Regions from separate parts of the Homo sapiens genome. Here all the other regions are linked to region 4. Evidence: promoter capture Hi-C in 16 types of primary human blood cells and fetal thymus (Javierre and others, 2016). All regions are on one chromosome and are shown on one strand. The core of a region is centred on a gene start or on the middle of the fragment in contact, and the rest is flanking DNA. Distances in the headings are between cores, read along the strand shown.

Region 1 (6,203 bases), core at 3,704-6,203, 520 kb after region 4:
AAGAGCTCTGACAAAAAATGCACAGGAAGTTCCTTCAGTAATGTTAAAGAAAAGCAGAATTACACACAGATGTGGGCGTGCAGTGTGAGAAGGCTGATGGGTGGAGGTGACAGTGAGAGCTGCTTTATTTCCCATACCTTGCTGCACAGTTTGTACTGTTTGAATTTTTACCATGTACATGTATGACTTATTCTAAAACATATACCTAGTTAAAATCTTTATTTAAAGATCCATTCTTATTCACATGCTGGAAAAGATCTAAACTAGATCTAACCCTGTTTAGTGCCATTAGGTCAACTGTCTTTACAATTTTTAATGCATTCTAACCTCTGTTAAAGTCTCATCTTACAGAATAAAACCAACCAAAGAATCAAATGAAAGCAGGACTTCCTTTCCCCCATCCCTCAATTATTTTTTTCTGAGGATAACAATGCTTAGTGTATTCATTTTAGACAATACAGAAAAGATAAAAAGGAAAATTAAAATTATGTATAATTCCACCATCCAAATATAAATGCCCAGTAATATTTTACTCTTTCCTACCAAATATTTTATGCATACACATTTTTCCTTATATTTGAACACATCATATTTCTGTAGTATAAGTGGATTTTTCCACTGGTAAGTACATCTTGTATTGTAAGTACTTTCCTGTCTTTAGTTTTTCTTCTACAGCATGGGTTTTAATATCTGTAAGGCACTTAATCTTAGAGATGGGCTATAATTTACATAGCCAGTTCCTGATTACATTTAGGATGACTTTAAAACGCAAATCTTTAAGAATACCTCTAATTATTTTCTTAGAATAATTTCCTAAAAGTAGTATTATGGTGTCAAAATGAATAAACCTTTTTGAGGCTCTTGTTACACATTCAATAGCATTTTCTGACAGTATATAATAAAAATCAATACAATCCAAGGCTGAGATGACATGAATTTGGATATAATAAGATTGGCGCATAGCTCCGTCCTCCATAGCCATCTCATCTCACTCATTTCATTACCTTTTCAACAACGTGACAATGCTTTTTAAGTGGTTTCCCCATCAAATCATAACTGACATTTAGAAGGGAAAATGCTAACGTGGCTTCTTCTCTGGCCTAGGTGTTCCAGGATACACTGTCAGATGATAGTCAGCCTTTTCTGTTTTTTGTTTTTTGCTTAAGTTACACATCCCTCTAGTCATAGTACCTAGAAAACAGTCACTTGCAAAGGATTTATGACACCATTAACAACGGGCCATCCAGCACTGTAAGGGGAGAGACATCGTGTGGCAGTTCTTGTTTTATGGGACCTAGATTTTCTGCACTAGCTTATGGGCTAGAAACTTTGTTAAGCTAGTATTTTTTAAACAATGTACTTGTATTTTTGGTTCCTAAAAACAGTAAAAGTAACACTTGTTTCATAGAGAAAGTACAGAGAAGTATAAAAAGAAAATAAAAATTACTTAAAAACTTGCCATTTGGAAGTAATTCTTTGGTCACATTTTGTGGCCTTTTCCCAATTTTTTTTCCACATGTATATATAACATATGTAAATTTGAATATGTTGCCATGTAATACATATATTTTATATAATCTCTGCTAAATAGTAAATGTATATAAGTCTATTTGTATTACATAAGTATATTTATTATTTTATATATTTATGCCCCAAAGTATTTAAATATAAATATGTGTTTATAATAATCATATAAATAAATGATATATAAATGTTTGTAATCTATATATCCATATAAACATAAAAATATTTTTTAACCTCATTTCACTAAAAGCCTCTGAAGAAACTACTATTACTGTCCCCATTTTTCTGTTGTGAAAAATCACGGCTTGGAAATAAGCTAGTAAGAGAGAGAGCCACAGCCAGATTTAAGTGTCTCACTCAAGGGCTTCAGTGACAGATCACAAAGATTTAGACGTCATTCTACTTGCAGCTGGAAGGCAGTGAAAGAATCTCATGAAGAAAAACATAAAATCATAACTTTTTTAGAGAACAACATTTCAAAAAATTTTATAATAACAAAGCCACAAAAACAGAAGTTCTTAACAAATCCACTATAGGAGAGGGGGTTAGAGCCTCACAAAGGAAGTGCTAGAATCTAGGCCCCAGCATCTCATTCCAGAGTCCCATTCTACCACTGTATTACATGTCACAATTAAACTGTAAATACATTCCATCTCATCACAATCATTCCAGTAATATTCTAGCAGCATCCTAGCTCTTGCAGTGATAACTAAAAAGCAAAACATGCATTTGCCATCGGAAGCAGAAACCTGCATCTCATCCGAAGCTTGAGAGAACCTGAAAGCCACTCGCTCTCAGGCCCAAACCCCTAACCGGCAGGTAGTATTGCCACTCCCTCCAATCCAGGCTGGCTGCCTCAGACTGCGGGCTGCCCCGGAACCTGACAGACATCCATTCTGCACGCACATGATGTCCATAACAGGGCGCTGCAGCCACGGCATTCAAACAACCCAGCAAAGGTGTCCAAACCTCAGCAAAACATATAATCCCATCATTTTCAAACAGAATGAAACTTGCAACTTCACCTGTAAATTCTTAACCCCACAAGTGCAGGTCTCTGATTGTGTCTATCTAGTCTTCCCATTATATTGTTTTTTGAACTGTTCTGTATCTTTTTAATTTTTTTTTTTTTTTTTTTTTGAGACGGAGTTTCGCTCTTGTTGCCCAGGCTGGAGTGCAGTGGCACGATCTCGGCTCACCACAACTTCCACCTCCCAGGTTCAAGCGATTCTCCTGCCTCAGCCTCCCGAGTAGCTGGGATTACAGGCATGCGCCATCATGCCCGGCTAATTTTGTATTTTTAGTAGAGACGGGGTTTCTTCATGTTGGTCAAGCTGGTCTCAAACTCCCGACCTCAGGTGAACCACCGCCTCGACCTCCCAAAGTGCTGGGATGACAGGCGAGAGCCACCACGCCCAGTCTTTTTTAATTTCTTTAAAAAATAAATAATTGAATTAGTAGGACCACATGGGTGTGTTTGTGTGTATGTGTGTGTGCGTTTATGTTGGCAAGTGTGTATGTTGGTGGGTATGTGTGTTGGTGGGAGGATAGCTGTAGCAGCAAAGTCAGTAGAGATTTAAATTTTGGCTTCTATTATTTCACAAGTTTGACTGGGATCAGGATGAGGCCTTTATACAAGTAGTTAAACTTGCAGCATTTCAGAAGCTCCTAGGACTTCATCAGTCTAAGCTAGAATGGCCTTCAGATCTGGAAACTGCACGGCCCTCGGCAAGGCTCTCAGAGGGACTGCTACCTCTTACACTAACTTCATGGTTTCCCCATCCACACTCACATACGAGGATCACCTCCATGGCCCCAGGGCCACCCGATCTCACTCTCAGCAGCCTAGAAAACTCCAGAATCAAAGGCCTTCCTCCCAAAAGGCCCCTCTGACCTTAACAAAGAGGCAAATCCTTACCTTACTCTCACGATGGTAGCACCTTCGTCACAGGCCTATCCACTACCATCTGAGCATCTAAGACAAGAGCAAACGTCTAATGAAGGACGGAAGGGCACAGCCAGCCAGCTCTACTTCCTGTTTCGAAACTCCTGAGTCACAAACACTAGAGGGGAAAGAGCGCTTACCACTTGCCCCTGAGTGAGCAGAGTGCCTTCTAAAGCTTCTAAAGCTGCAGGAAAAAGGCCTGGTGGTCCAGGAGACCGCACGCAGGGCACCTGGCCACCTGAGCACTGGCCCCTGGCTGTGACTTTGGATGGGCCATTTTACCTTTGGGGCCTCATTTCCACATTCCAAAACAAGGACGTTGGACTGGATTGTAACTAAGAACACTTTCATTTCATATTTAGGATTTAAAGATTTTTCTGGGTTCATCATTAAGACTTTAATTTTTTCATTCAATGAATCTTGATGGAGCACCTCAGAGAGGTCTTGAGATTGGACACTGCAGAGCCCTCTCATCTTGGTTCTCAGGGTGGCTGTGAACTTTCAGAGCTAAAGCCCCTGGTTTAGCCAAGGAGCATCTCTGTGGCCCCAAGGTCACCAGATTCCACCCTCAGCAGCCTAAAATACTCTAAAATTAAAAAAAAAAAAAAACTCTAAAAAGAAAAAACTCTAAAATGAAAAACCTCTAAAAAGAAAAAACTCTGAAATAAAAAAATTCTAAAATGAAAAAAATCTAAAAAGAAAAAACTCTAAAATGCAAAAACTCTTTGGTAAGATGGTAAGTCCATCTTACCAAAGGTGATCCTTGTATATGAGTGTAGCTGAGGAAACCATGAAGTTAGCTGAAAGCTGGGTTTACCATCTTATCAAAGAAGCAAATCCTGGGGCCCTCACCATGTTGGGCTCTAGGGATATACCAGTAAACAAAATATTGCCTTCATACTGAGAGTTAGATGAAATGTTTTCTGATATTAAAAGTAGGAAAAGAAAATCAAACACCTCTCTTCTTTGAAACTGCCTTTTGTCTTTCCCCAAATAGAATATAAGCTTTCAGAGGGTAGGGACTCATAGCTGAGAAGACTGAACGAAGTATCTGAAAAGGACTCTTCACCAGAGAGGGCTAGGTCAAGATGGCCTCATAATATCAATGCCTGGATGGCCACCGTGGCTCATGCATGTAATCCTAGCACTTTGAGAGGCCAAGGTGGGAGGATCCCTTGAGCATAGGAGTTTGAGACCAGCCTGGGCAACAAAATGAGACACCATCTCTATGAAGAAAAATTTTTTAATTAGCCAGGTGTGGTAGCACGCGCCTGTGGTCCCAGCTAATCTGAAGGCTGAGATGGGAAAATTGCTTGATCCCAGGATGTTGAGGCTGCAGTGAGCCGTGATTGCACCACTGCACTGCAGCCTGGGTGACAGAGCAAGACTTTGTCTCAAAAAATAAATAAATAAAAAAGAAATAGAAACAGAATGAGCAAAATAAAATACCAATAGTATTAATATGCAATAATAATTGCTAACTCGTGTAGTAAGTGATGTATGCGTATTATCTCCTTCAAGCCTCACAGTCACCTCTGGAGGCATTATTAATCATTTAATGATGAGATAACAGAGGCACAGAGGAATTACTTGCCTGAGATCGCATAGTTAAAAAACAGTGTACACATACAAAAGAAAAATACATTTTGCAAAGATACAGATAAATTCACGAATCCACATCAAAACATTAGAGAACTGTCTTTGGGGAACAAGAGAGAGGGCAGGAGGGCAAGGGTGGGGGTGGAGAGATAAAAGGAAACCCTTCAGACACGGAAGAGGGGGAAGGGGCTGTGCACCTCAGGGCATCGTGATTCGACAGAATGACAGAATAAAGTACTTAACCGTCGGCCCCAGGGCCAAATGAAAAAGAAAAAAAAGTGGATTGATAAAGTCTTCTGGACTCTCCAAACGGGTCCACAGGAGGGAGACCGTGTATCTGCATTCGAGGCGGCAGGGAAGCTTGGAGGACAAAAAGGTAGCAGAGGAACTGGAGACTGCTCAGAGTGAAAAAGTAGCAAAGTCAGAGGCAACGGCTCAGAGAGAAACCACACAGGAGACCTGGGCCAGGCAGCACCCAGAGGTGTCCTCAGAAGGGCAGATCCAAGTTGCTTCCCCACCCCCACAGCCCTGTTTCTAGAGCAAGTCAAGAAACAAAAATATTGTGGTTTCCTGTTGAAGAGGCCACCTTGGCAACAGGCACTCACCCGCTCCACCCTTTCCTGGCACCATCGCAGTCTCCGAGTCCCCTAACCTGCCTAACTCCACGTGCTCAGCAGGGAAGGGGGTGGGAAAGGCTCCCAGGAAGAAGTTTCTTTTACTTTCAATAACCACCCTGGCTCTTCTGCCTCCCTCCATGGCCTCACTTCCTGTTGAGTTGACTAGCAAATTCAGCAGGGCTTGAAAAAAAACACAAAAGATAAAAGGAGGAGAACCTGTGAAAACACTTCCCTCCAGCAGAAAGGCAGAATCTGGTCTCCGAGAGAAAGAGAAAACTTCACCACAGAAGGAACTGCAGGGTAAACTTTACTCCTAAAGCAGAACAGAGATGACTCACTCGAACAAGAAATGTTTCCTGTTTAAAGGAACAGATGCCCAATTTCCAACCATTCAGAAGAGGGATGTGGCAGACAATTCATGGACGTGCAAACTAAAGCCCGAGCGCTGGACATGCTTTATTGGAAAGCATTTATACTGACTCCATTTAGTAATAATAACCCCTGTCGGTGGCAAGTAA
Region 2 (5,589 bases), core at 2,235-4,734, 820 kb after region 4:
TGGCTTTTTCAATTGGGGCCTCCTCTCTTTTCTGATTAGCTTGCCTGAAAAAGTCTTTAAATTTAATGCCCAGGGGATATATGACTCATTGCCAGCGTTCTGGGAGCCAAGTAAGACGAGGTCCTGAGCTTATCCTCCCCATTTCAGTATGACCTCATTTCTACTCTCAGTTGTGCCTAGTGGTAGAGTCTAGATCCTCTCGGTTCACCTTATAATCTCCTGGTCCTCCACAAAGTATGACAGGAGATCTAGCATCTAATTGTTTCAAGACTCCCAACCAATCTTCAGTCTCAGCTTCATACTCCATTTTTTTTTCCAACCAATCCTCCAGTCTCAGCTTCATGCTTTTTTTCTTTTTCTTTCTTTTTTTGAGACAGAGTTTCGCTATAGTTGCCCAGGCTGTAGTGCAATGGCATGATCTCGGCTCACCGCAGACACCGCCTCCCGGGTTTAAGCAATTCTCCTGCCTCGGCCTCCCAAGTAGCTCAGGTTACAGGCATGCACCACCAAGCCCAGCTAATTTTGTATTCTTAGTAGAAACGGAGTTTCACCATGTTGGTCAGGCTGGTCTTGCACTCCTGACCTCAAGTGATCCACCTGCCTCGGCCTCCCAAAGTGCTGGGATTATAGGCATGAGCCACCGCACCAGACCCATGCTGCTTTTAACGTATTCCTGAGACTACCACCTGGAGTTCTGTGAAAGGAATAGGCTTCTTACTGGCTTCCCCCTTTCAGGCCTGGATTCCAGCTAACCAACTTATGTTAACCTGTTTTTCTATTCTGTTAATTTTATGTTTACTAACTTCAATAAAAAATTCTGATTATTATTTTACTGGTATTTAAAAAGTCTTCAATTCACCCTGTTTCATAGATTAGATTTTTAAAAGCCAGTCCCTAAATTTCAAACTATTACCCAATTAGCTGCTTGTGCCTCTACTCTTATAGTATTGAGCTTCTATTTCCCCCTTTGGAACAGTCTACTTGCCCTGCGCAAAATTTCCGTGAATACATGGGGAGTTGCCATTTTATGGTCCCCTCTGACTTCAGCTTCCTGCTGCTCCTAAATCCTGTGTCTCCATTCTGAAGGTATGGCTCTTTGTTTTTATCTTAGTGTCAACCTAAAAGCAAAACTCAGCTCCTTCCCTCTATTTTCCACACATATACCATAAAAACTACATCCAAACCCACCACTCACACCAAGGCCTCTGTGGTCTGTAGAAGCCTTTTTTCAAGATGTGAGAAGGAGAGGAATGAAGGGGAGTTTACTGACATCATAGAAATATAAAAAAACAGCCAGGTGCAGTGGCTCACACCTGTAATCCCAACACTTTTGGAGGCCGAGATGAGTGGATCACTTGAGCTCTGGAGTTGGAGACCAGCCAGAGCAATATGGTGAAACCCCCACTCTACAAAAAATACAAAAATTAGCCGGGTATGGTGGTGTGCGCCTGCAGTCACAGCTACTCAGGAAGCTGAGGTGGGAGGTTTGGTTGAGAGCAGATAGTCGAGGCTGCAGTGAACAGTAATGTTGCCACTGCACTCCAGCCTGGGCGGCAGAGGGAGACTGCATCTCAAAAAAAAAAAATTATATATATAAAAAACACACATAAGTTGAACATATCTATTCAACATTCCTAGATCTTCATCTTTTTTTCAAATTTCTTTTCTTTTTTAAGAAATGGGGTCTCGATGTGTTGCCCAGGCTGGAGTGCAGTGGCTATTCACAAGTGAGATCACTGCTCACTGCATCCTGGAACTCTGGGATGCAAACAATCTTCCTTTTCTCAGCCTCACAAGTAGCTGGGATTACAGGTGTGTGTGCTGGGCTAGTCATCTTCACATTTTTAAACACTCTTCAAACACATCATTGTTAACTGTTGAGCTATGTTCTCTTTATCTTCTGTCTCTAGTCACTCCCCAAATTCTTATTTATAATGCACAAAAAATTGCCTTTCTCTTCCATTTTCTTAACTCCACCTAGCCAAAATGGAATAATGAGGTATCAAGGCTATGATCATTTCTTTCTCAACTGGATTTCCTAAACAGCTCCCAAATCTTGTGACTCTATATCTTCCCTCCCAATCCTACCTCCTTTATCCAAAGATCTTTCAATACAAATCTGACCAGTGCCCTAAGGGCCAACTAAGCCCTTCATAATAACAGACCCAATGCTTGGCATTTTACACAGCTGTTACACGGATTTGGACCTTCTACCTGGAAAATTTTACCCCTCTTGGCCTGTTTTAAATCTATTCAACACAGGGGTTTCAGTTTAAACATCTCTTCCTCCTAGAAAATTGTTCCTGACTCCTTCTGGGCTTTTAATTAGCTACTCCTACCATGTGCTCCAATGCACTTCCCATATCATGGTATTTTTCTCAATATTGTCCGTTCAATATCTTCACGTGCTAGGTAACTACAGTGAATGCAGAGATCGTAGTTGTCTCGCTCGATAATGAATACTTATCTTCTGTTCGCAGAGTACTCTGTAGTTTTGTTTTGAGTAAGTGAATCCAAATGAAACAATACCCTGTTCTTAATACTGTATGGATCCCATCCAGGTTCATTCCTTTTCTTCCTCATTTTCTCTGTCTTGTCTTTTTTATATTTTGGATAGTTGAAGTCAATCATTTTCTCTGTCTATTCATTCTATTTCCCCAGCCTCTTCATCCCACTAGCCGTCCGATCCCATCTCCATATTCAGTGCTTCTCCTAACGTCTCTTCTTCTCCCTACCCCAAACCCTGGAGATGTACAAGATCCTACCTTTCACGCCAAATGAAGAAAATCTTTAAAAAAGAAATGCGAATCAATTTCCATTACCTTTTTCTTCAAAAGGTAGCTGGGAAACCAATGAACACTTTTTTTTTTTTTTTTTTTTTTTTTTGAGACGGAGTTTCGCTCTTGTTGCCCAGGCTGGAATGCAATGGCTCGATCTCGGCTCACTGCAACGTCCGCCTCCCGGGTTCAAGCGTTTCTCCTGCCTCAGCCTCCCGAGTAGCTAGTATTACAGGCATGCGCCACCACGCCCGGCTAATTTTGTATTTTTAGGAGAGACGGGGTTTCTCCATGTCGGTCAGACTGGTCTCGAGCTCCCGACCTCAGGTGATTCGCCCGCCTCGGCCTCCCAAGGTGCTGGGATTAGAGGCGTGAGACACTGCGCCCGACCCCAAAGAACACTTTTTAAAGATTGCTACAAGACAAACAGCTACCACTCAGCCAGCTACTGTGCAAACTTCCTCAGATCCAAACAACACTTCCTTTTCCCTTCCCCGGAAACGGAAAGAAGAAAGGAAAGGTAAGGCCCACAACTCAGGGCCCAAGAATCCGTTTTCCTCAGGTTTCCTGATGGGCGGGGCCGAATGGCCGGCGCCGACTGGACGGCAGAGCCGTCGCTCTTGGCCGACTCCTCTTCCTATTGGCTTCCTCGGGCACCGCCCCCTGAACAGGGCGGGAGATTCGGTGTGCCGCACGCAGGCTTCCCATCCCCCAGCTGGCCTCCGGTGCTCCTTACCTCCCCGGTGGTCGGGCGCGAATTACTGGAAATTGGCTTTTCCCGTTGGGGCCGAAGGTACCTTCCCTGCGGCGGCGACTCAGCGGGGTGTCGTTCGGCCGGCGTGACGCAGCCGGATCGGCGCCAGACGGAAACCTAGCGGTGAGTAGTGGGGTGTCGGGGCAGCCTGCCTCCCTTTTCTGCTTAGCTCGCGGCGTGTGAGGTGCGTCCAGGTGCACCCAGCCCCGCGTCGGAGCTTGGCCCCTAGCGTCCCAAGTCGCGCATCTCAGGACTTTCCCTCGGCACTTGGGGCATGGTCTTTGCGCCTCGCTGCCCCCCGCAGGCTGCCCGGGGGCTCGAGAACCCTTACTGGTGGAGCGCAGCCAACTGGCCAGAGGCTGGAGGCGCAGGCCAAAGTCCTTTAAGACTTGAGGTGAGAGGCTCACTCTGGGAGGACCTTTCGTTAGTCTGCCCCGCAGTTATAGGCCTTTTGTGCAAGGGACGCCTGATACTAACCTACCTGATTCCCAGCTTACGAAGCCCTCTGGTTGGAAAAGGAGAACTGTGAAGATGTGTAACGACAGTGGTAAAGTGCCCTGTGAGGTATGAAGAGGAAGAGATCGCGTCCCAGAACCACTGTAGCTAGAACCTTTGATGTCATCCCAGCCTGGAGGCACCAATGTGTCCTGCCAGCTAACTGATCGGTCACCTTGGAGCCATGCTTGGCTGTAAAATGTTGATAAGCCAGGCTCTTTTGGTAGAGCTTTTTAATTAAAAAGATGTTGAGACGTTACTTTTCATTTTACAATTGAAATCCTAATAGAATCATTACACTTTCCCGCAGTTAAATTGCAATCTGAAGAAAAATAGCACGGCCCTACACCGTTATATAAGGGCACTGCACGTTAAACGGACATCATCACTTATTGAGCAGTTTTTCTGTTAGATGTTGAATGAGTTAGAGATGTACAAGAGATCTGCATGGTTAAGTTGAAGTTTAAAGTAAAAATATCTCAGTGCACTGCAGTAAGGAGCTAAAAAAGAAAAAGGTTAAAGTAAAAATACCGATAATTGGGAGCATTCAGTGATGCTCTTTTATATATCAGGCACATCATTTCATTTAATCGTCAGGACTTTGGACAAAGTCACACAGTTATAAAGTATGGAGTGGAGATTGGAACTCAGGTTTCTCCAATATTAAAATTGGTGTTTAACCACTAATCTATCCAACCTTCTTTTTCAAAGGATTATGTTTTTAAAAATTACAGCAAATCTTTTATTTGTTTTCAAAGGAGAGTGTGTTGCTACCACTTGGTGCAATGCTAACACTTGGTGCTGCAGAATTGCCTTGAAGTAACTCCTTGAAAGGGGTTGGCCTATAAGCACCAAGGCAGTGCCTTGAGGGGTCATAATGGTCACTAAATATTGCATTTTATTGTGTGATTGTTAGGTTTTTTTGTTCGTTTGTTTTTCAGGAACTGTTGGAAAGCAAAGAAGGAAACGTTTCTCATGAGGTCTTTGTAGACATTTTCTTTAATTTGGTGATTTTGTACTATTTAATAAGATGCTCCAAAATTAGAAAAGGAAATGTTTGTATAAATGCACTTGGCTACAAACAAGTCTCAGGCTGCCTCTCTCCAGGCAATTCTTGTGTAGAATACCATAGGGAAATTGCCTAGGACAATACTCAGTTGCCTAGAATATTTGTTTTTAAATTTTCCTAGAAAATCTTGTCCCCACATCCCCAAGAACAACTAAACTTTTGCCAATAAGAATTACGTAACCGACCTTTACTTGCTTTTTGCTTTGATTGCCAGGAAGCTCAGAGCCAAAAATTCATTGTGTGATTTTATTTTCTGCTTTCCTTTATATTTTTTCTGATGCAGACTCCCTATTAGCATTTATAAATTATAATTTGTTTTATTGCATTTGCTCATTGTCACTGCTTCAAATCCTTTGTAGTACACAGCAGTGTATAATTAAGTAAAATAATGTAGATTATGCTGACTCTGGCCATGCTCTTTGAAGTATGCTTGATAGAACTAGTGATGTTTCACCCAATGAACTGGAAAGTTAGAGAAACTTTCCAGTTTGGAC
Region 3 (5,695 bases), core at 756-3,255, 660 kb after region 4:
CCAAAAGCTTAAGTAAAGCAAGTATTAACAAAACAAGAAAATGGATGTAAAGCAAACAGTAAACATTAAAAACTCCCTTTCAACCCAGTCTTTTTTGTTTAGATCTTGGAGTTGGGCCGGGCATGGTGGCTCACGCCTGTAATCCCAGCACTTTGGGATGCCGAGGCGGGCGGATCACCTAAGGTCAGGAGTTCGAGACCAGACTGACCAACATGGAGAAACCCCGTCTCTATTAAAAATACAAAACTAGCCGGGCATGGTGGTGCATGCCTGTAATCTCAGCTACTTGAGAGGCTGAGGCACGAGAATCGCTTGAACCCGACAGGCGGAGGTTGCGGTGAGCAGAGATAGTGCCATTGCATTCCAGCCTGGGCAACAAGAGTGAAATGCTGTCTCAAAAAAAAAAAAAAAAAAAAAAGATCTTGGAGCTCCAGCCAGGTTTTTTGTTCAACGAAACTTTTGTAAGGTTATTTAGGGGAATCACCAAACCGAAAAGTGCCAAAAACTCCGTTCCTCTTATCGGAAATCTCTCTCTAAAGCAGGTCAAACCTTCCAGAGCCCGCTGTCTGTTGTAGATTATCGCAGTTTGTTGATGTCCAAAAAGCTTTACTTATGCTATACGCTATCCCCCTACTGGTTTCACCCCTCATTGCTTAAGAACAAATTTCAAATGTCAACCAATTAAAATATTCGCAAGACCTCTGGCGTCCTTGAATTTACTTCCTGCCCGTGGAGCCAAAAACTGATTCTGAATTTCAGTGGCCTTTGTTCTACTGCGTGCCACTGTTAATATTAAAAGAACATGGCCTTCTGTCCAAATCCAGACACCCTCAAGCAAGAACATCTTGAAGCCAGTTTACATTTCCCAGTCGTTTTGAGGCGGTGGAAAAGTGGCAGAAACAGGTTCATTTTAAAAGGCTCTAAAAACTTTTCATTAGCCAAGCATTCCCAGCTTTCCCAAGGCAAGCTTTCCTTGCACTTGGGCAAAATAGACATTAAACTGCTCTGGAAAATAACCGCCCTGACCAGGCTATTGTGAAATTCCCTCCAGGGCGGCGGCTCCCACTGAGTGAGATCGAGCGCATACACAATTGTTGGGAAAGTCCACGTTCCCAACAACTTTCGAAAGGAAAAATGCCAGATCTTCTCAACAGTTCACCCCAAGAATTGAACTCTCAAGATCATTTTAAGCAAAGTTTACACGACGCTGAGGGCCCGCCACTGAAGCTCGCGGGTGGGCCTCTGGGGCTGCGGCTGCAGGGGGCGGCCAGAGTTGGCCAAGGGTTACTTCCGGTCTCTCAGGTCCATCGGGGTGCAGCTTGTACCGCTGTGGCCCAGGTCGCCCCTTTCTGGGAATCCGGGGCGGAGTTGCGGGTAGAAGGGGTTCGGGGGTTCGGAGCCGGGCGGAAACGGAAGCGGGGGCATTCCGCAAAGCCCGCGGTAAACAACCGAGATAAGGAACCTACAAAACTGAGTCAGGTTCCAGAAGCGCCCCCGCCATCCCCTGGCCACTGCCGGCCACCTGCAGTTTCCCGGAGCGCAGGGCTGTGAGGAGCGGCGCGGGGTGGGACGCGGGGCGCGGCGGCGCAGGGCCTGCTGCAATGCTGACTCAGGGCCGGGCGTCGGGGCTTGGGGTCTGGGACAGCTCCGGCGCCGCCAGCGCGGGGGTCGAGCGCGGGGCACGTACCGTCCTGTCGCGGCCGGACTCTCCTGCCGCTGCCACCTCAGCCTTCGCTCCCCTAGACGCCGGGAAGGCGCACCCAAGATGGAGGCAAAGAAACCGAAAGCCTGGAAGCGGACTTGGTGCTGGGCGATCGCTGTTCGCGGCGCTTCTCTCCTACACCTCCTCCCGTGGTCCTTGTTGTCTCAGCTGTCACTGGACAAAAGTCCAATAGCCGGCACTCACTGTGTGAGGCCGAGTCCCCACCCCTAGCTCCGGGAGTCCCTTTTAGTTGAGACTCGTCGGTGAGGCTGCAAGCTCGCTGTTTCCTGCTATGGCTTGTGTGACTGAGTATGCAGTAACCGGGGGTGGATGTCGACACAAGTTCCACGCGTTAGGAGTAAACACTGCGAGTGTTTTTTTTTTTCTTTCTTTCTTTCCTTCTTTTTTGAGACAGAGTCTCGCTCTGTGGCCCAGGCTGGAGTGCAGTGGCGCAATTTCAGCTCACTGCAACCTCCGCCTTCCTAGTTCAAGCGATTCTCTTGCCTCAGCCTCCCGAGTAGCTGGGACTACAGGCACGCGCCAGCACGCCCGCCTAATTTTTGTGTTTAGTAGAGACGGGGTTTCACTGTTGGCCAGAATGGTCTCGAACTCTTGACCTCGTGATCCGCCCGCCTCGGCCTCCCAAAGTGCTGGGATTACAGGCGTGAGCCACCACGCCCGGCGCGAGTGTTTACAATTGTTGTCTGGGAGTCATAGCAAACGTGAACACACTTTGTGGTTTTTTGTGTGTATGTTTTTGTTTGTTTTTTTTTGTTTTCCTTCTTGAGACAGGGTCTCGCGCTGTCGCCCAGGCTAGAAGGCAGTGGCGCCATCACAGCTCACTGCAGCCTGGATTTCCCGCTCTCAAACCATCCAGCCCTCAGCCTCCCAAGTAGCGGGGACCACAGGTGCAAGCCACCATGCCCGACTAATTTTTTTTTTTTTTTGTATTTTTAGTAGAGATGGGGTTTCACCATGTTGGCAAGGCTGGTCTCCAACTGCTGGCCTCAAGTGATCCTTGCCCGCCTCGGCCTCCCAAAGTGCTGGGATCACAGGCGTGAGCCACCGCGCCCCTCTACGTTTTTATTTATTCCTAATAACTACTTTATTGTGATTCTTAAAGAGCTTTAACTTTTCTTGAGATAATTTTAAACTCACAGGAAAGGTGAAGAATAATACCAAGAGAGACTAACAGCAGGACGGCATGAAGAGCTCGGGATTCACCCCTAGTGAAACTGAAAATTATTTAAAACAACAAACAACCATTAACCATTTAAAGCCTTTGAAATGGTCCTAAGGGCAAACAGCAAATGAAGAAACATCTGTTCCAAAAAATCTATGAAAACTCTTGGATCAGAATGTGAGAGTCAGTCTGTGGTATTTAAACCAAACCTCTCCCTTTGTTCAGCAAGAGACTCCACTCCAGACTGCTGCAACTCAGAACCTCTCTCTTCCCACAGCTCCCAGTCAGAGACCAGCATATCAGCATTTCTCATCTTGCCCCTAGCTACCTGATGCTGAAGGTAAATCCTGGGGGAGTGTGGTGGAGAGGTGGGAGATTCCTTCTTCCATCCAGAGGCTCTACCTTGGGTGGAGTGCTGAGACACCAGAGGAGACTTCAGCTCTTTTTCTCCATCACTTTCACCCCATATTCACCCCCAACCTTTTTTTTTAATCTCTCCATCTTCCCAAGATAGTTATATTCTGTTTGATTAATCTTCAGTATATATGCTATTATAATCATGTAAACGGTAGTCACAGCCAAGTTATGTACCAAACTATGATTACTTTTCCTTTCCCACACAACTTTTAGTTTTTTCTGGAGTTAATAATTGTCTTGTTTTGTTGGTTTTTCCATGTAATTCTATCCTAAACTCTGTCAGTTATCCAAGTTTGGTTTTTTGTTTGTTTTTGAGACAGGGTCTCACTCCAGGCTGGAGTGCAGTGACCCGATCACAGCTCACTGCAGCCTTAACCTCCCAGGTTCAAGTGATCCTTCTGCCTCAGCCTCCTGAGTAGCTAGGACTACAGGTCCTAGCATGCCACCATGCTAGGTGTGCCACTACAGGTGCCACCATGCCCAGCTAATTCTTTAAAAAAAAATTTGTGGCCCGGCGCAATGGCTTATGCCTGTAATCCCAGCACTTTGGGAGGCTGAGGCGGGTGGATCACGAGGTCAGGAGTTCAAGACCAGCCTGGCCCAGATAGTGAAACCCCATCTCTACTAAAAATACAAAAAATTAACTGGGTGTGATGGCGGGCGCCTGTAATCCCAGCTACTCAGGAGGCTAAGGCAGAGAATTGCTTGAACCCGGGAGGCGGAGGTTGCAGTGAGCCTAGATTATGCCAGTGCACTCTAGCCTGGGAGACAGAGTAAGACTCCATCTCAAAAAAAAAAAAAAAAAAAAAAAAAAAAAAAATATATATATATATATATATATATATATATATATCTAGTAGAAGCGGGGGTCGTGGGTGGCAGGGAGTCTTGCTATGTTGCCCAGGCTGGTTTTGAACTTGCCTCAAGTGATCTTCCTGCCTAGGTCTTCCAAAGCACTGGGATTACAGGCATGACCACTGCTGCTCTTGGCCTTTCTTATCTTTTTAGTACACCAAGAAAATTTTATTACAGATCAGCACCTGTCCTTAATTTGGAAACTACTATTCAAGAACACCTAGCTTAGCACCTCCATCACCACCTCCAACCCACCCTATCCCAAGTGAAAGCCATTTCTGGTTGTCAGTAGAACCATCATAGTGGACTTACCCCAGGCCCACCTTGCATGCCCACTGATTCTTACCACTTCAACACACACCAGTATGACTTCTAACCCAGCATATCCATATGTCGTTCCCTGAGGGCTTTTTCTGGCTCACATTGGAAGCCCATGTTGTCATCCCATTTGGCAAACCAGTAGGGGCAGGCATTTAACCCCCTACCCCTGTGCCATCCTTATCCTTTGGCTTCAGCAGCCCTCAAAGAATGACTGTATACACCTATGTTGACACTCCCACCTGCAGTCCACTTTCCATTTACATCCTCTTAAAATCAGCCACCCCTTGGGCTTAGGGATGTGCATACTTGCAGCATAGTTTGTCCCTGGGGTATGGACTTGGGGAAGAGGCCAATGTAGGCCCTGGTGGGAGGCTCAGGGCTCTTTGCGTAGAGAACTTCAGGTCTTAGGTACCCAAAGAGGGTTTATTCTTTTTGTTTTTTTGAGACGTAGTCTCACTCTGTCACCCAGGCTGGAGTGTAGTGGCACAATCCTGGCTCACTGCAACCTCTGCCTCCCAGGCCCAAGCAATTCCCTTGCCTCGGCCTCTCAAATAGCTGGGATTATATGCGCGCACCACCATATCCGGCTGATTTTTGTATTTTTAGTGGAGACAGGGTTTCACTACGTTGGCCAGGCTGGTCTTGAACTCCTGGCCTCAAGTGATCTGCCCACCTTGGCCTCCCAAAGTGCTGGAATTACAGGCGAGAGCCACCACACCCAGCCCCAAAGAGGGTTTTAAACAGAGGGTCTCGGTGTGGGCATGTCCTCTTGACCTTGCAGACTCCTCCCACCTCTGATGATTCTCCTCACCTGAGGGAAGGGCACAGCCCAAGAAGAGCCGGAGCAAGGCCCTTCTAAATCAGGGCCCACAACAGGACCCCCAGTGCCTGGGTCCAAGGGCAGTATTGCTTAAGCCTCTCTGACTTTCTGTTTCCACACTTAACAAAGTAGCAACAAATGTTCACGTTTTCATCAAATTCACTGGTTGTAAACCTTGGCTGCACATTAGACTGTCCCCAAGGAGCTGCAAAAACCTCAGTGGCCAGGTACCATTCCAGACTAATTGTATCAAAATCTCTGAGAGTGAGACCCAGGGATTGGTAGTTTTTAAAGCTCCCCGTGTGATTTCAATGTACAGTTAAGATTCAGAACAACTGATCTAATCCAAACATTTTCTCACTCCGTCAACCACAACCCAATTTTCAGATGAAGAATC
Region 4 (5,607 bases), core at 2,855-5,354:
CTCGGGAGGCTGAGGTGGGAGGATCGCCTGAGCCCAGAAGGTTGAGGCTACAGTGAGCCATGTTCACGCCACTGCACTCCAGCCTGGGTGTCAGAGTAAGATCCTGTCTCAAAGATGAATGAATGAATGAATGAGCTATGTTCTAACTGCCAAAGGTTTCTTTCTTTCTTTTTTTTTTTCCTAGCAGCTAAACAAGTGCTGGCATTGAGATAAGCAATATTAAAACAATTGCAGCTCATTTACCACCAGATGCTGACTAACTGAGCCTCTGTCCCACAAGCCATAACTATAGCTTTGATTGGACAAGACACTGATTTCAGTAACTTTCTCCTGATAAGAGACCACCGGCCATGGACTGGTTCTGGCTAGTTCACAGTGGCTGAGCACTTAAGTGCCTTTGTATTCCTGCTTCACCTTCAACATTAAATGCATTACATAATTATAATTGCCCTCTATATCAAAATGATATTATAATTATGTAATGCAATTAATGTTAAGTCTCTATCCCAAAGTGAACATGGGGTGCATGTAACATGCATGCTATTCAGTATACATGTGTCAGGACCCCCCTTAGTGAATATTCAATCTGTTCAATGTGTATGTTTAGCCAACCCATTCAGCTCCTGACTCAATCGTTCCTCCTTCAAAATGCCTGCTAATGGTCTCTACTGTAGGCTATACTTCCAAGCCTGTCAGTATGGCCACCTTGCAGGTTATAACTCTTTATAAGAAAAGAAGTCTCAGCGGGGTGCAGTGGCTCACACCTGTAATCTCAGCATTTTGGGAGGCCGAGACGGGTGGATCACGAGGTCAGGAGTTTGAGACCAGCCTGGCCAGCATGGTGAAACCCCATCTCTACTGAAAATACAAACATTAGTTGGGTGTGGTGGCGCGTGCCTGTAATCCCAGCTAATCGGGAGGTTGAGGCAGGAGAATCACTTGAACTTGGGAGGCGGAGGTTGTAGTGAGCTGAGATCAAGCCACTGCACTCCAGCCTGGGTGACAGAGCAAGACTCTGTCTCAGAAAAAAAAAAAAAACGAAGTCTCCTTTCTAAATCTGAGACAATTTGTATATCTCAAATTTAGAAAGGTGATTCTTCAGTTTACACTATCTTCCAACCTACCTATCTCTCTCCTGAAAAGACATACATAACACACAATTGGTAGACTACTATGGACAGGACTTAGCATCTAGCTTTTTTCTCTTATCTCCTAATTTCCAGATCATTCCATATCAGTATATAGAGATCATCCTCTTTGTTTTAGATGGTTGCATAGAATGCTTCCATTCTATGACAGTACCATTAGATTACAAAATGAGAAGATGACTATTGATTTCAGTAGACTTAAGGAAATGGTGAGGAAGACTGGGAAGTCAGAAAGTAGAGGTAGGAAATGAGGTTGGAAAGGAAAAAAGGCAGAAAGTAAAAAAATTAAAGATGAGATAGATAGCAGGTTTATACACTGTAAGTATATAGGAATAAGAAGACAGGCAGAGGTTGAAAATACATGAAGGAGAAGGGATAAGTAATGGAAATGTAAATAAAAAAATGAAATTCTTAGCCCCCCCAACCAACTGAATAGATCTCCCTCCACCCTCCTTGGCCAAGGGGATCCTAAAGAAAACCTTAAAAACTAGTTAAGGCCATGATGCGAAGGCAGGTTGGACATACCTCATTATATCCTCTCCCTTTGGAGTTTAGACCAGCATTAAAGTGGTCTAAACCATTTTCATGAAATGAAAATAGAGATCATAAGACTGACAAAATAGACTCTTGTAGCAATAAGATTATCCAACTCTAACCTGACTATGGTATAGCATTACAAGACAGATAGTTGGCCCTGAAGAAAATAAAAATATTTTACCCCAAAATATATTTCTTTGACATATTTTGAAATGACCCTGCAAAGCTGTCTCTTGTGGGGGGAATTTGCATTTTATACAGAATCACTTTCCTTTTTCAGGTCTTTTCTTGATCCAGGAGAGATTTAACCAAGAGTCTGACACATTTTAAGGTCCTATAACATATGCTACCTGGAAGCTTCATCTACGTAACAAGAACCTTGGCTTCTATAACCCCCTTCATTTTAACTCAAATATTTCTTTCTGCTAACTTCAACTCTTTAGGAAAAGCTTAGCTTTTTCAACCCATCATAAAGTCTCTGAATCCACCTATAATCTGTGAGCACCACCGGCCCCCCATGTATTGATCTATGTCTTTGCCTATAACTTCTGTCTCTCTAAAATGTATAAAACCAAGCTATAACCCAACCACCCTGGGCACATGTTCTCAGGACTTCTTGAGGCTGTGTCCCAGGCCATGGTTACTCATGTTTCGATCAGAGTATATTTAACCTCTTCAAATATTTTATAAAGTTTGTCTTTTTTCATCAACAGAACAAAGTCTTTCCTTTGGGGAGATTAGGGATCCTGAGTTCAGGATCTTCTAAGAAGAAAGAGGGAGAAGAAAAGGACTCGGTGAAAAGGAGCCGGGGCTCGGTGGCTCGCGCCTGTAATCCTAGCACCTTGGGAGGCTGAGGCACGTGGATCAATTGAGGTCAGGAGTTCGAGACCAGGCTGGCCAACATGGTGAAATCCCATCTCTACTACAAACACAAAAATTAGCCGGGCGTAGTGGCGGGCACCTGTAATCCCAGCTATTTGGGAGGCTGAGGCAGGAGAATCGCTTGAACCTGGGAGGCGGAGGTTGCAGTGAGCCGAGATCGCGCCACTGCACTCCAGCCTGGGCGACAGATCGAGACTCCCTCTAAACAAAACAAAACAAATCAAAACTGGTTGCAGGTAGGTTTTGTGGTAGTGGCTGATGGGATTTGGGATTTAAGGAAATTCACCTCTAGTGGTCTCACTTTCCTCAGAGATGTAAGAGACAAAATTTTTTATTTTTATTTTTACCAAAGCGGGTGAGTGAGTAGAGTTCAGTAAGAGGTTAGAAGAGCGTGAGGGCTGGGAACAGCAGGGGAGGGGAATAGGAGATAATCTGAGTAGCAATGTGTAAATGTGACTGTCTTAGGCTCAGCAATATTGCGTAGTCGCACGTGGAAGTCCCGACTGAAGTTGGACACTTTTCGTTCGCAGTGGTGCCAATTCTCAGGGTTGTGTGATTTTCTGCACCGATGCAGGAGTGAGCAAGGTTGGTTGAACTGTTGCAGACTAACAGTTTTGCAGGTGGGCGAAGGATCAGGGAGGAAATTGAGTTGAGGGTGTTGGTGAATAGGATATAGGAGTTTCAGAACCCGACTACACATCTGTCGTTGATGGTCTAAATATTTGCATGTTTGCAGGTCCAGCGATGGCACAATGCCTAGCAGCAGAAGGTTTGCACCCACTGTGCGACATGAGTGGCAGCTCTGGAAAATCATAAAATCATGGGAGGACTTGAGAGTGCAGGCTGGGTGGGGTGGGACTGTGGCTGCGAAAAACAGTGTTATGAAACTGTGCGCGGGACAAGAAAGCTGATTTTACTGATTGTATATTGGGGAGTACTACGGGAATCACTGGAGAGGCCACTTCATTTTCTCCTATCCCACCCCATCTTTTGGGGTTGCAACTAACCAGTAAGTTTACACATTGAGGATACAATGGCGAAACGGGGCCGCGAGGCGATGACGTCATTCGCGGGAGTAGGGGGGAGAAGCGACCACTGTTAGGGTACTGTCCATAAAGGCAATTTGAAAATATTTCAGCCTTTTTACTTTTATACTTCCGGCCCTTGCAGTTTGAGGTGGTAACAAACGACTGCTGCTCCCAACCACTTTCACCACCGCCTGTTACCATGGGAGCGCTCGGGTAGCTAGGCTTGGACGACTCTATTCTACGTCATCATCAAAGCGCATCTCAGGACTGATAGCTCCGCCCTAAACTAAGGGAGAGACTGTGCTCCCAAGTACGTAGCCTGCAGTGCCTAACGCATTCTCAGCAATTTTGACCCCCAACAGACGCCGTCGACAGTCTCCCAAGAACAATTCCCAGGAGCTCGGATTCCAAGAGCCGCCCGCGCCCTCGTTTACCTTCGCTAGTCGCCCTGCAGCCCCGCCCTGTCCGGAGGCCCCGCCCTCCATGAATCAGCTGATCCCGCGGACCCACTGGGTTGCCAAGCTCGCGCCGGATGCGGAGCGCGGTGCTGCCGGTGGAGCTTCAGGTGAGCGAGTGTGGGTCCCGGGTTGGCTATTGGCTAAGGAGGGCTTATCGGCTGGGACCCCTTGTATGCGGAAGGCCGGGGACAGGGAGCTAGGCGGAGGCTGTGGTCGAGGCCGGAGAGCGCCCTGCGGGGGGCCTGCGGAGACGGCGCCCGCATTTTCCCAGCTCTGGGTGCGATCGACTGCTCCTGCCGGTCCAGCAGCGCCCGAGGCGGCCCCTGCCTTGGCCCCAGGTTCTCCCACTTGCCCCGGTCTCTCCCTCCCCAGACTGGGCGCCGCTGCAGTGGTCTCAGCTGCGTGAAATTCCTTCAAGCCCCCTCTTCCCGCCTCCACCCACGCTGCCTTCCAGCTATTCATTCACGAGAATTTCTTGAATGCCCACACTAGGCGCTGAGCTGATAAACTGGGGTCCGTGGCCTGGAACCCTGCTGAGTGTCCCTGGCGGCCTTGCCACAGGGTGCAAATCGCGTTGAAGAGTGGACCAAGGGCTACTTGAAAAGGCGGTTGCGGAGAAAGAAAATAGCTTTGATAATAAGAATTAGTAGTTTAGGCAAGTCTTTGAGCCTATCAAGTAATTCATCAAGAGGAGAAGATAAGTTATTTTGAGAAGCGAAGCCAGAAAAATAACACAGGTCCTTGACGCTGGTGTTCGTCCTCGGATAATAGGGCTGCTTTGGAGACAGGCAACAGTAGACTGGTAGAATCGTTCTATTGCTTAAGGCTTTGATGGTGGAAGAGAAAAAACACTCTTGTTGAAGTGGCATATCCAAGAACAGTGCTTTCTTTCTGGTTTAGGATGGAGAAGGAACTGACTGCTGTACCCAAGTGAAGATCTTTACTCAGTTACCCTTATATTTGGCTATATGGAATAAAATTGTGTGATATGTTTATTCTGAGCAGGTACAAAACTTCAGCAAACCTATTGGTCCCACATTTTCCCCCCCATTTATCATATGATTTGGAGTGACCGGTTGACCTTTGAGTTAATGAATAATTTAAAGCAGTGAAAAATTTTTTGCAGTAAACTACGGTGTTTTAACCTTGATAACATAAGCATAGTGGTTAAGATTCTAGGCTTTGTATCTGAACATACCCAGAGTCACATCCATTTACATCTTTGATTTTGGGCAAGTTATTTAATCTCTCTGCCTCAGTTCTCTTGTCTCTAAATTGGGGATAAAAATGTTTTCCTGATAACAGTACCTTTACGTGTAATGGTTCATGTATCGTATTTATTACAGTGCCTGTTTTATGGTAAATATTCAATACATATTAGCTGTTTTTATAATTAATTCCTCCCACTACATCATGATCCAAACTGACTCTTTTCTTAAGTGATGGGGAAGGGAACTGAATATTTTAAGGAAGTAGCTATAAAATATGATTTCAAGTTGTTCTGTAGTAATTTTGGTGTTCCATAAGGACATTTTAATGTGAAAAAGATACTGA

What was found. Contacts are between HindIII fragments. The CHiCAGO score rates a contact against its expected background, and 5 or more counts as called.
Region 1: a contact is called between a fragment that was not itself captured here and the fragment with the promoter of ALS2 in region 4, in 1 of 17 cell types (erythroblasts). The highest score is 6.5, in erythroblasts.
Region 2: the fragment with the promoter of ORC2 here is called in contact with the fragment with the promoter of ALS2 in region 4 in 1 of 17 cell types (neutrophils); the score reaches 6.7 in neutrophils.
Region 3: the fragment with the promoter of CFLAR here is called in contact with the fragment with the promoter of ALS2 in region 4 in 3 of 17 cell types (monocytes, total B cells and neutrophils); the score reaches 5.4 in monocytes.

What each region holds. Positions count from the first base shown.
Region 1 is chr2:201,257,853-201,264,055 of GRCh38, reverse strand. It overlaps CASP8 (caspase 8), which reads right to left and starts at 3,520. Exons shown (of 9, transcript NM_001372051.1): 1 at 3,443-3,520. RefSeq lists enhancers at 5,216-5,635, 5,656-5,715, 5,712-5,856, 5,816-5,945 and a cis regulatory region at 5,784. The HindIII fragment of the contact is 954 bases long and covers 4,477-5,430 here.
Region 2 is chr2:200,961,555-200,967,143 of GRCh38, reverse strand. It overlaps ORC2 (origin recognition complex subunit 2), which reads left to right and starts at 3,484. Exons shown (of 18, transcript NM_006190.5): 1 at 3,484-3,654. LOC105373835 (a long non-coding RNA gene) reads right to left here and starts at 3,712. Exons shown (of 3, transcript NR_187976.1): 1 at 3,514-3,712. RefSeq lists a silencer at 3,075-3,473 and an enhancer at 4,182-4,251. The HindIII fragment of the contact is 10,169 bases long and covers 1-5,589 here.
Region 3 is chr2:201,112,474-201,118,168 of GRCh38, reverse strand. CFLAR (CASP8 and FADD like apoptosis regulator) reads right to left here and starts at 2,005. Exons shown (of 10, transcript NM_003879.7): 1 at 1,688-2,005. LOC105373836 (a long non-coding RNA gene) reads left to right here and starts at 1,485. Exons shown (of 3, transcript XR_923785.3): 1 at 1,485-3,225. RefSeq lists enhancers at 70-119, 1,760-2,019 and a silencer at 1,520-1,729. The HindIII fragment of the contact is 6,122 bases long and covers 970-5,695 here.
Region 4 is chr2:201,779,430-201,785,036 of GRCh38, reverse strand. ALS2 (alsin Rho guanine nucleotide exchange factor ALS2) reads left to right here and starts at 4,104. Exons shown (of 34, transcript NM_020919.4): 1 at 4,104-4,160. RefSeq lists enhancers at 3,745-3,814, 3,825-4,054, 4,065-4,134 and a silencer at 4,265-4,434. The HindIII fragment of the contact is 4,023 bases long and covers 2,137-5,607 here.